Linked DNA regions of Homo sapiens: region 2 is linked to region 1. The links are contacts of gene promoters, found by promoter capture Hi-C in blood cells and fetal thymus (Javierre and others, 2016). All regions are on one chromosome and are shown on one strand. Each heading gives the region's core, a stretch centred on a gene start or on the middle of the fragment in contact. The rest is flanking DNA. Distances are from core to core; before and after follow the strand shown. Region 1 holds the start of LINC01164 (long intergenic non-protein coding RNA 1164). Region 2 has its middle 160 kb from the start of TCERG1L.

Region 1 (6,255 bases), core at 146-2,645:
TCTCTCTGATTTTCCGAGGAATGAGAAATCTGATATAATCTTTTACTATGTGAGCCAAAAATTAAATTTTATTTCATTGTGAAAATTGTTGTGATCTGAAGATTTTAGAGCCAAGCTCCAGAAACGCTTCTCTCTTCTAGAACTGCCCAGTGTTGTGTTTTACAGGACTTGAACCCTGGGTTGCTGAGGAAGTGAACAGCTCTATGGCCAATAAAAGGCAATTAGGCTGAGATAAATTGTTGTGGAACAAATGATCTCATAAGAAGGTTTCCTTATGCTTACGCCTTATGAATAATCTTCTTACAAAGACTTTTTGAGGTATAATTTTAAAAATGATACTAATCATAGCATTTTAAAAAATAAAAAAGTGAAATGACCCAAAGTGTTTAATGATAATAAGATGGCCCAATAAATAACCTGCACTGATGTAATCCACATTAAAGGCAATATGATTCAGTCTTTAAAATTAAATTTTCAAAGAGTTCTTAAGACTGTTGTAGTTATAACTTTAAGTGAAAAAAAAGAGAAAATTATTTAAGTCGGCATGACCAAAAAAATCCATAGAAAAAAACGGAAAGGAAATATATAAAAAATGTTAAGTAGGTCCCCCAGAGTGGTGAAATTATACAGGTTGAGCATCTTGAATCTAAAAATCTGAAATCTGAAATGCTCCAAAATCTGAAACTTTCTGAGTGCTGACATGATGCTCAAAGGAAATGCTCACTGGAGCATTTTAGATTTTAGACTTTTGGATTCAAAATGCTCAACCATTAAGTGTAATGTAAATATTCCAAAATCCAAAACTCAAAACCTTTCTGGTCCCAACCATTTTGAATAAGAGATAACCTGTAGGATATTTTCATTTTCTTATTTTCTACTTCTATTTATTCTCCACATTATGTACCTGGCACATAGAAGATGTTTAATAACTAAGTATTGCTGAGTGAATAGTCAGGATAAGAACTCATTACTTTTTAGTCCATTTTTGGGAACTTAGGTTACAAAGTCTGCAGGGCCAGTGTTGTGGAAGTCACTGCTCTCTCCGACTCTTGGCAGGAAAAAGAGAAGTAGACTGCCTGTCTGCCAATGATGGCAGTCCCTGTGGGATACAAGGATGAGTGTGCCTGGTGCCCTCTCTACTGGAGCTCCAGTCCAGAGCTGGTGATGTGTCGGTGGACAAAGGACCGTGATAAAAGAAAGAATGGAGCAAGGACAGTCATCAAGTTCTCAGGGTGATTTGCTCACTGAACATCCCTGCTCCTCTGAAGCAGGCAAAGCAAGGGGACTTGCCTTGGCCAATGAAATTCAAGTACAAGTGTCATGTGGCAGTAGGGCCATGTGACTTGCCTTGGCCAATGAAATGTGAGCAGAAGTGTCATGGGGCTCTGCTGGGCAGAAGCTAAGAGCCAGCACTTGTTCACCATGTGCTCATTTCCTGTCTCTATGACAGGCTGCCGTGCTCCAGTTTGCGAATGCCCATCCACCTGTGAAGGGCTGAGCCAAGCCCTGGGCACGTGGTGAGTGACAGGCAGATCTTTGTGGAGGGAAGCCTCTGTGATTGCAGGACATTTGTTACTCGGTATAACCCAGCCTGTTCTAACTGACAGTGAACACAGCTCTGATTTACAGATAACACTGTGCTAACAAATCTATCATGTGCGTCTTACATCCTTGAATGTCATTGTAGGTTGGGGGTTGGGGTCTGAGTTCTGGTCCATTTTCCCCAGGCTTCATCTCCTGTGTCAATTCAGGCAAGAGGAAGAGAGAGGAGGAAGCTTCTAGATCCAAGCCAGAGGAGGTGGATGCAGCATCTGCCGCCCACAGCTTTGGGGCCTGGCCCAGCCTCCACCTGGCCGAGACACCCAACCCCGACCCCACCCACATGGGCGTGCAGAAGAGCCTGAGATGGTGCACACTGACCCATGGCAGAGTTACAGGTGACATTTCTTTTGTTTCTACATCCTAAATCTTTCTACAGTAGATGAACGTTTTGTAAGAGGACTTTTGCTGCCAGTTAGAAATGCATATTGCTGATGCACCCTCTGCAAGACCTTCTGAATCCAACGCCCTGGCGCAGTGGTCCTCAACCTTTTTGGCACCAGGGACACGTTTTGTGGAAGACAATTTCTCCACAGACTGGGGGTGGGGATGGTTTGGGGATGAAACTGTTCCATCTCAGATCATCAGGTATTAGATTCTCATAAGCAGTGGGCAACCGAGATCCCTCAAAAGCACGGTTCACAATAGGGATTGTGCTCCTATGAGAATCTAATGCCGCTGCTGATCTGACAGGAGGGTGAGCTTGGGTAGCAGTGCTCCTCAGCCTGCTGCTCACCTGCTGTGTGGCCTGGCTCCTAACAGGCCACAGACTGGTACTGGTTCATGGCTGGGAGTTGGGGACCCCTACCCTGCTGGATGGGGAGTCTCTAAGGTGTCATGGATGCCAGTGCAAAGCCTGTCTCCCCTGTGCCTCCCCTGTACCTCCCCCGCACCTCCCTGCACCTCTCTCTAGCCCTATTCCAGTGCCCTTCTTGGTGATGATGAGGCAGCTGAGGCCAGGGGCTTATTACTTCCCCAATTGCCACTGGCAATGGGGTTCCTCTGTGTGCTGGATTGGCGAGGGGACTAGCCCCCAAATTCTATCCTGAAGGTCTGCTATCTAGAGCTTTCAGGTGTGGTATCAGTGGTCTTAGATGGAGCTTCTCCAGCAGAGCTAGGGACAAAGGCTTGAGTTCAGGCTGTTTCTTTGGGCAGGGGTCTCAGGGCTCAGGCGAGCAGGAGTGAGTTGAGCGAGGGAGGGAAGGAGTGAATGGGAATACCAGATGGCTTATCCAATCGACAGCCGCTTGGAGTGGCTGATGCTGGGCTTTTTGAGACCTTCTGAGGCCCTTTATGAAATGCATCTCAGCACAGTCTCCTTGGGACAGTAAAGGAAAGAGAACTTATTATCTGCTTCTGTCCTGGCCGTGGAGGCCCTGTCTTTGGAGACTTGCATAACTGTGATTGCTGAGCAGCCTCCTGCAGGTGACCCCGGGGCCAAGGCAGGAAGTAAGAGGTGAGCAGATCTCCGAGCCCAGGTGGTGTCAGGTGACACCTATGCAAAGTGGATCAGAGCCTGGGAGGTACTGGGTGAAGTGCGAGGTGAGGCTGGGAGGGTTTTCATGTGGGGTATAAAAGGTATCCCATAGAATTACCTTACATAATGAGGTTTTGCACACGAGATGGGGCATACTCCTCCCTGTTCTGCACCCTGGATAATCCCTGGAGTGTGAGGGAAGGGAACATTTTATAGAATAGGACTGGTGGGAAGGTTCACTGTAGGGGACAATCAAGGAGAAAGAATAAAAGATTTTGCAAAACACCAAGCTGAAGTTTAGCTTCACTCTGTGGCTTTGGCGACCTGACCCCAGAGCACGTGCTGGTCCTGTGAACTTTGATGCTGCTGAGCTTTCCCCCATGCAGTTCCCTGCTTTGAATATGTGTCTTTCACATTGGGGTTGGGGTTACCCATCTCTTTCCTTAGCTGAAATGGCAACTTTTTCTCCCTGCCACCCCTCAAATCAGATAGAAGAAATTGCTTCTTCCTCTTGCTCCCGTAGTGCCTTTGGACGAACACTTGTCATATCAGATTATAATTCTTATATATGTGTATATATGTCTGCTCATTTTCCTTGCCAGGCTGTGGGTCTTTTGAAGGCAGAAATTGTGTCTTAATTTTCTGAGCATTCAGCACCCGGCCCAGTGACCAGTCCAGCCATGTGATAAATAACTATTGCATGGAATTAAATTATCTTGTACAATAATTATATATAAATATGTTTTATATGAATAAGTACAAAAATATATAAATGTTTATGTTTTATATACACATATATAAAACACGTATATCTCCTATATATTTACCTTTACATATCATAACAACAAAATGGAATCAGGGTGCACTTGGTTTGACTTCTTAGAAAACTCACAGTGGCTCATAGCTACCGGTTCCTTTTCACTGTGATTAGAGCCTTTTAATTTGCAACCATCTCAGTGAGATCGAATTCTAGGTATTTTCTTTAAAGCAAGCATCTTCACTCTGTACTGTGTTCTTTCAAAGTTGCATGTGTAACTTTGTGAATGTGCACGTGTGTTCATTTTCCCAGGGAGATCCTCCCACATTTTATCAGGGTTTCAAAAGCATCTATGACCAGTTAAGAAATGCTGCCTCAAGGCTTGTGCTCGGATTATACTTGTCACATGTAGGATTAACAATGAATAAGTTCACATATTTTACCATTTTCCCCTAAATAGATGAGAAAAATATGTTCATTGCTACCTTTACCAAAACACAGTTGTAGCGTGGACTTCACTTTTTGGAACATGACATGTGACACTGTGACCACCACCAGGTGGCAGCAGATTTTAATCACATACTTGGTTTTTGAAATGGTGAATAAATTAGAATTAAAAAAAAGAGTCAAGTCAATAAATTCGAATCTATATAATGCCGGCGATAGATGTCACTTCAGTCAAAACCCAGTGTGGTTTTTTTTGTTATTGCTGTTTCGTTTTGTTTTTGTTTTTTCCACTGCGTTGGCCAGAGCTTTCAGGTGGCACAGGAAAAGGCGAGCCCAGCTCCAAGGACTGTACGGTGTGCACTGACAACACTGTTACCTTAGTCTCCTTGGCCTGGGAACATAGGTTCCAGAGGTTTGCCTGTGCATAACCAAAGTTCCCAGCCGACAAGCACTTAAACTCAGAACTGCCGGGATCCTCAGAACAGAACAAGTCTCCATGCCTCTTCTTACAGCAGGTCATAACTCAGTGGAACCAGTTCCATTGTGATCAATGACCTAGGACATTCACACTGGTACAGATTTGTGTATTTTCTATTGAAAAAGATAATATTCTTTTGAAAAAAATTCAATGTTATCCTTAAAATGTTGACGCTTATGTCTTAAAGACATGACATTTACGGTGATGTTTCTTAGGCCCATTTTTCCTTGTCAGGTGCATGCACGTACCCATTAGTTCCTGCGCAGGATGATAAATGCAGTAAGAGCTTGATGAAGATTTTATGAATGAATCAGCGCAGAACCCTTCTCCTTGGCCAAGTGGATCTGATACACAACAAAGGACCTGACTTCTTCCATTGAGCACATCTGGGGGAATCAGTTTGTTGAAGCTTCAGTGGGGCTACAGATGCACATAATTCCTTCTTGAGAAAGCTCCTCTTGCTCAGGATTGATCTTAAAAAGCAAGAATTAGGGGAAAAGAGAAGGGAACTAACCTTGCTGAATTTTGGGAAATGGGGATAGCAATGTTAGAAGTGAAGGGTAGGCAAGGGCCTGTCAGCCACCCTGCAGGGGAGCTGGGCGGCCAGAGGAGCCCAGTCCACCCTGAGCAGAGCCGTGGGCTGGGAATGCGGCAGGTGATAGAGGGGAAGGGGCTCGTGGTGGCCTGACTCCTGCCTGGTGTGCAGAAGCAGGGAGCACAGCAGCTCTCCGTCCCCTAGGGCAGCTCCGCAAGGTCAACCGGATGAACTCTGATGCTCACCTTTCTCCTCATTTCTACAGTCGCTGCTTTTGTGTAACGTTGGCTCAGCAGCCCTGTAGGAGTTAGGGGGATTGGCTTTGGAGTAACGCCCGGGCTGGGAGCTGGTTCTGCCATTTATTCTCTGGGTAATGTCTGGCAAGTTGCTTCTCTGCATCTCATTTTTTCCTTCTGTTAAATGGGGATAGCAATGGTGTCTGCCTCATGGACGGTGGTGAGAATTAAACCAGGTAATTGACACAAAAGGCCCAGGGGCACGTCTGGTGCATAGTAGGTGGTCAATGAATAGTAAATAGGGTTTTGAAGTGGCTTATTTCGGTATTCTTTTGAGTAGTAGCCAGTGGAGGCCAGATGGCTTCTGAATTATCACAATTGATTTTCTATATGCTCTTGGGTATAAAGTTTCCACTGAATTCAGTGAGCTGCAAGGTGTCACCGAGAAGAAACAGGCCATGGTGGCATCAGTGGCCTTTTGGGGGATTGGGTCCAGCCCTGGGCCTGGAATATTCTGGGCTCTGGAGGAAGGAGTCAGGAGTGCCGTGGGGAGTGTCTCAGCAGGGCAATGGCAGGGGAAGGGGAAAGTCTATAGAACAGGACTGCTGGGCAGTTTCTGCTGCTGTAGGGGAGAACCAAGGAGAGAGAATAAGAGATTTTGCAAGACACCAAGCTGAAGTTGAGCTGCACTCTGTGGCTTTGGTGACCCCAACTCAGAGTGCTTGT
Region 2 (6,141 bases), core at 2,128-4,627, 320 kb after region 1:
GTGATCTTTCTGGAGTAGACACCCCTTGATCTGGCCTCCCGACCTCTGAAACACAAGGTCACCTTCCACATGTCACGGTCTTCCCCAAGGGAAGGGAAATACCCAGCTCAGCCCACTGAGGCTGTTCTGTCCCATCTAAGCTGGGAGGGACAACAGAGGCGTGTGCTTGTGAAGTGAGACACAGGCTCTCGGGAAGCCGGAGACCTACTCGCAGGACTATAGGCTGCTCTCCCCTACCCAGCGCCGCACCGCCACATCACCAAGGTCCGTATGGAAGTTTCTTGCATTTGGCGCATTGTGTCTGCATATCAAAAAAATTATAAGGCATATTAAAAGGCAAAAAAGCACAATTTGGAGAGACAAAACCAGACATGGCAGAGATTTTAGAATGATCAGACAGTGAATTTAAAACAACTGTGGCCGAGCGCAGTGGCTCACGTCTGTAACCCCAGCACTTTGGGGGGCTGAGGCGGGTGGATCATTTGAGGCCAAGAGTTCAAGACCAGCCTGGCCAACATGGTGAAACCCCGTCTCTAATAAAAATACAAAAAACAAAACTAAAACTAAAAATAAATAGCTGGGCATGGCGATGCATGCCTGTAATCCCAGCTACTCGGGAGGAGTCAGGAGAATCACTCCGACCCGGGAGGTGGAGGTTACAGTGAGTCAAAATTGCATCATTGCACTCCACCCTGGGCCACACAGTGAGATGCCATCTCAAAAAATAATAAATAAATAAATAAAACTGTAAACCAAAAATAAAATCTTAAGCCCCCGACCAACTGGACAGACCCTCTCAGGGCCAAGGGGACCTCAGAGAAACGTGAAAAATGGAATTCCTGACCGTGATAGGAAGGGAGGTCGGGAGGTTGGGAGGTCAGGAGGTCAGGAGGTCATGCATGTCTCATTATACCCGCTCCCTTTTGGAGTTTAGGAACATGACCAGCACTAACTTTAAAGTGGAGAGCACTAGGCTGACAAAACAGACTTGTAGCAATCAGATACCAATTTCCAAACTGACTCTGGTATAGCATCACATGTCAGACAGCAGGCCCTGAAAGAAATCAAAGCATTTTACTCCGAAATGTAATGTATTTCTTTCACATATTTTGAAATGGCCCTTCAAAGCTGTCATTTGTGGGGGAAATTTTGCCATCTCCAAAGAATCTCCATTAATGCAGCCAGGCCTTCCCAGATCTAGGAGAGATTAACTGAGAGTCTGTCGCCTTTCAAGATCCAAAAAGAGACACTGACCTTCTATCCTCTCGGAGGGCTGCCACCACTGAGGCTTCGTCAACTTAACACGAACCTTGGCCTCCATGGCCCCCCTTACCTTAACTCAAGCATTTCTTTTACTGACGTCAAGTCTTTAGACAAAGTTTCACTTTTTAAACCAACTGCCATTTAGAAAATCTTTGAATCCACCTATGACCTGTAAGCCTTCCCCCACCAAGAACTTCAAGAATCTTTGCCTCTTTAGGCTGAACCAACGTACACATTTCATGTATTGATTTGTGATTTTACCCACATTTCTTGGCTCCCTACAATGTATAAAACCAATCTGTTACTCGACTGCCTCGGGCACACATTCTGAGGACCCCAGGCCAAGGTCACTTGTATCTTGGCTCAGAATCAACCTCTTAAAATATTTTACAGAGTTTGGTTTTGTTCCCGTGAATATGAGTATGATTAAAATGCTAAGGGCTCTGATGGGTAAAACAGGCAGCACTTAAGAACAGATGGGCAATTTTAGCAGAGAGATAGAAGTCCTAAGAAAGAAGGAAAAAGAAACAGAAGAGATAAAAATGCAGGGGCAGAAATGAGCAGGGCTTATTAGTAGACTGGACGCCGCTGAGGAACGACCGTGTGAGCTCGAGGACACACCCATAGAAACTCTGGAAACTGAAAAGCAAAAAGAACAAAGAATGAAAAGAACAGACCATAGTATCAAAGGGCTGTGGGACAGCCACGAAAGGTGTAACAAAGATTAATGAGAATATCAGCAAGAGAAGAAAGAGAGAAGGAAGAGAAGAAATACTGGAAACAATAGCGTCTGAGAACTTCCACAAATTAATATCAGACACCAAACTACCTATCCATGAAGTGTAGCTCACCAAGCAGGGTCTGTGACCCCAAGCCTACACCTAGACATGCTATTTTCAAACACAGAAAAGCAAGGATTAAAAAAAAGTCCTGAAAAAAGCTAAAGGGAGGAAAAAAACCCAACACTTTACCTGTAGAGGAAAAAAGATGAGAATTAATTCTGTCTTCTTCTCAGAAACCAAGTAAGCAAGAAGAGAGTGCAGTGAAATATTTGAAGTATTTAGAGGAAAAAACACCCCGGCACAGAAATCTGTACCCTGCAGAATTACCCTTCAAAAGTGAGGGAGAAATAAAGACTTTCTCAGACAAACAAAAATTGAGGGAATTTGTTGACAGTAGACCCGTCTTACAAAAAATATTTTAAAAGATCCTTTAGAGAGAAGGAGAATAAAAAGGCCAGAATCTCAGATCTGCATTAGAAAAACAAAGAGGGCCAGGTGTAGTGGCTCACTCCTGTAATCCTAGCACTTTGGGAAGCCTAGGTGGGTGGATCCTCTGAGGTCAGGAGTTCGAGACCAGCCTGGCCAACATGTTGAAACCCCGTCTCTACTAAAAATACAAAATTAGCCGGGCATAGTGGTGCATGCTTGTAGTCCTAGCTACTGGGGAAGCTGAGGCAGGAGAATCGCTTGAACCCAGGAGGCAGAGGTTGCAGTGAGCCAAGATCATGCCACTGCACTCCAGCCTAGGCAACAAGAGCAAAATTCCGTCAAAAAAAAAAAAAAAAAAAAAGCTCTGAGAAAGGAAGAAGTGAAGGTAAAATGGAAGCTTTGATTTTTCATAACCTTAATTGACCTGATTGATAGGTAAATGTGTTCAAAATAATAACAGCAACAATGCATTTGATCATGTATGTTCATGTATGTATTTAATGTTTTATATATATTTGCACACACACATTTATGTCTGCTGATATATCAATGAAATGAATGACAGCAATGACACAGGGACTGAGGGGTAATTAGGCTTATTTGGTTGTTTTAAGGTACTCACGTTACCTGTGAAGTGGTGTAGTGTTTTTCAAAAGTGGGCTTAGATTAGTTGTAAATCTATATTGCAAACTCTAGAAAAACTACTAAAAAAAAGGTTAAAAAAAAGAATGTGATTGACCTGATAAGAAAGGAGAGAAAATGGAATTATATAAAATCTCAATCAAAATCAACTAAAAGGTTAGAAAAGAGTGGAAGACAAAAATAGGAGCAAGGTATAAAGGCAACAAATAAAAAACAATATCAAGTATGGTAGATATTAATCCAACTATATCAATCATTACTTTGAATGTCAATGGTCCAAATGCACCCATTGAAAGACAAAGATTATCAGAGTGAATGAAAAAGCAAGACCCAACTACATGTTATCTATAAGAAACCCACTTTAACTTAAAAGAAACGTATAGATTAAAAGTAAATGGATGGGGGAAATATATGCCATGCTACAACCAATGAAAAGAAAGTAGAAGATGTATTAATGCAGACAGAATAAGCTAGGAAAGCTACCAGAAATAAACAGGGCATTACATAATGATAAAGGTATCAGTTCCCCAAGTATATCTAACAATCCTTAACGTGATTAAGAACGGAGTCAAGCCAATGAGGCAAAAGCTAATAGAACTGCATGGAAAAATAGATGAACACACTGTTGTGGACTTCAACACCCTCTGTCAGAAATGGACAGTTCCAAGGGGCAGAAAAATCAGTAAAGACATAGGTGAACTCAGCAACACCAGCAATAACCTGGAAATAATTGGCATCTTAACATGTGAGTAAAAAAAGAAAGCTTAAGAGAAATTTAGAAATGTTTAAACAAAATAAAAATGAAAACACAACATACCAAAACTGTGATGCAGTGAAAGGAGTTTTTAGAAGGAAATTCATAGCATTGAATTCATATATTAGAAAAAGAGAAAGATCTAAAATCAACAATTTAAGTGTCCAACTTAAGAAACAAGTAAAGAAGAGCAAGTAAAATCCAAAGTAAGCAGCAGAAAAAAGTGGTTAAAAATTAAAGCTGAGATCAATAAAATTGAAAACAGGAAATGGACAGAGAAAATCAACAAAACCAAAATAGAGAGAGGACACAAACTTCTAATATCAGAAAAGAAAGAGAGATATCACTACAGATCCTATGGGAATTAAAAGAATGATTTTAAAAATGCTATGAACAACTCTATACCCACAAATTTGAAATCCCATTTAAAATGGACCAAATCCCTGAGAACACAATTTGCCAAAAATCACAAAAAAGAAATAAACAGTCTGAACAGGACTATGTCTATTAAAGAGATTGAATCAATAATTAATAACCTTCCAAATCAGAAAGCCCCAGGGCCAAATGGGTTTATTAATGAATTTTACCGAACATTTAAGGAAGATATTTTACCAGTTATCTAAGATCTCTTTTAGAGAATGGAAGCAGAGGGAAAACTTTCTAATGCATTCTGAGAAGGCAGTAATACCCTATGATAGGGTTTGTCTGTGTCCCCACCCAAATCTCATCTTGAATTGTGGCTCCCACAATCCTCACGTGTCATGGGAGGGACCCGGTGGGAGGTGATGGAATCATAGAGTGGGTTTTTCCCCTGCTATTCTCATGATAGTGAATAAGTCTCATGAGAGCTGATGGTTTTCTTTTTTTTTTTTTTTTTAATTTTTATTCTTTTTTTTTTTTTTTGAGACATAGTCTTGCTCTGTCGCCCAGGCTGGAGTGCAGAGGCGTGCTCTCAGCTCACTGCAAGTTCCGCCTCCCAGGTTCACGCCATTCTCCAGCCTCAGCCTCCACATAGCTGGGACTAAAAGCACCCGCCACCATGCCCGGCTAATTTTTGTATTTTTAGTAGAGACAGGGTTTCACTGTGTTAGCCAGGATGGTCTCGATCTCCTGACCTCATGATCCGCCCGCCCCGGCCTCCCAAAGTGCTGGGATTACAGGCTCGAGCCACTGCGCCCGGCCAAGATCTGATGGTTTTATAAAGGGCATTTCCCCTGCACACATTCTGTTTTGCCTGCTGCCATGTAAGATGCCTTTGCTCCTCCTTCACCTTCTGCCATAATTATGAGGCCTCTCCAGCCATGTGGAACTGTGAGTCCATTAAAACTCCTTTTCTTTATAAATTACCCAGTCTCAGGTATTTCTTCATAGCAGTATAAAAATGGACTAATATACCCTAATACCAAAACCAGACATTTTAGAAAAGGAAAACTCTACATCAAAATCTCTCATGAACATAAATCCCAAATCCTCCACAAAATATTAGCAAAACAAACTCAATAATATATCAAAAATTATGTATCATGACCAACTGGAAATTATCCCAGGTATGCAAGACTGGTTCAACATTCAAAAATCAATTAATGTAATCCATCACAGAAACAGGCTAAAAAGGAAAAAAAGAGATCATATTAATAGCTGCAGAAAATGCAACAAAATATGGCAAAATACAGTCCTCCTTTGTAATAAAAACTTTCAGTAAACTGGGAACAGAGAAGGACTTCCTCAGCTTGATAAAGAATTATCTATGAAAAACCTACAGTTAACATCATATTTAATGGTGATAAACTTGAAGCTTTCCCACTGAGACCAAGAGCAAGGCAAGAATATCCCTACTCACCACTCCTTTTCAAACACTGTACTGAAAGGCTTAGTTAATACAGTAAGACAAGAATAAAAAGGTAGACATATTGGGAGGGAAGAGATAAAACTGTATTTGTTTGCAGATGACATGATCATCTATGTAGAAATCTGAAAGCATTGACAAAAAAACTTGTGAAACTACTAAGTGATTATAGCAAGGTTGCAAGATACAAGGTAATATACAAAAGTCAATCACTTTCCTACATATCAGCAATAACAAGTGGAATATGAAATTTAAAAATAGTATTATTGGCTGGGCATGGTGGTTCACACCTGTAATCCCAGCACTTTGGGAGGCTGAGGTGGGAGGATCAGGAGGTCAGGAGTTCGAGACCAGCCTGGCCAACCTGGTGAAACCCCATCTCTACTAAAAATACAAAAGTTAGCCGGGCATGGTGGTGCATGCCT

Evidence for each region. The method cuts DNA at HindIII sites, captures the fragments that hold promoters and counts their contacts. A CHiCAGO score of 5 or more calls a contact.
Region 2: a fragment that was not itself captured here is called in contact with the fragment with the promoter of LINC01164 in region 1 in 1 of 17 cell types (M2 macrophages); the score reaches 5.9 in M2 macrophages.

What each region holds. Positions count from the first base shown.
Region 1 is chr10:131,785,339-131,791,593 of GRCh38, reverse strand. It overlaps LINC01164 (long intergenic non-protein coding RNA 1164), which reads left to right and starts at 1,395. Exons shown (of 5, transcript NR_038365.1): 1 at 1,395-1,517; 2 at 1,728-1,937. The HindIII fragment of the contact is 4,036 bases long and covers 1-1,777 here.
Region 2 is chr10:131,467,360-131,473,500 of GRCh38, reverse strand. No RefSeq gene overlaps it. Among named protein-coding and RNA genes, the nearest start is that of TCERG1L, 160 kb to the right of the region's middle. The HindIII fragment of the contact is 1,008 bases long and covers 2,874-3,881 here.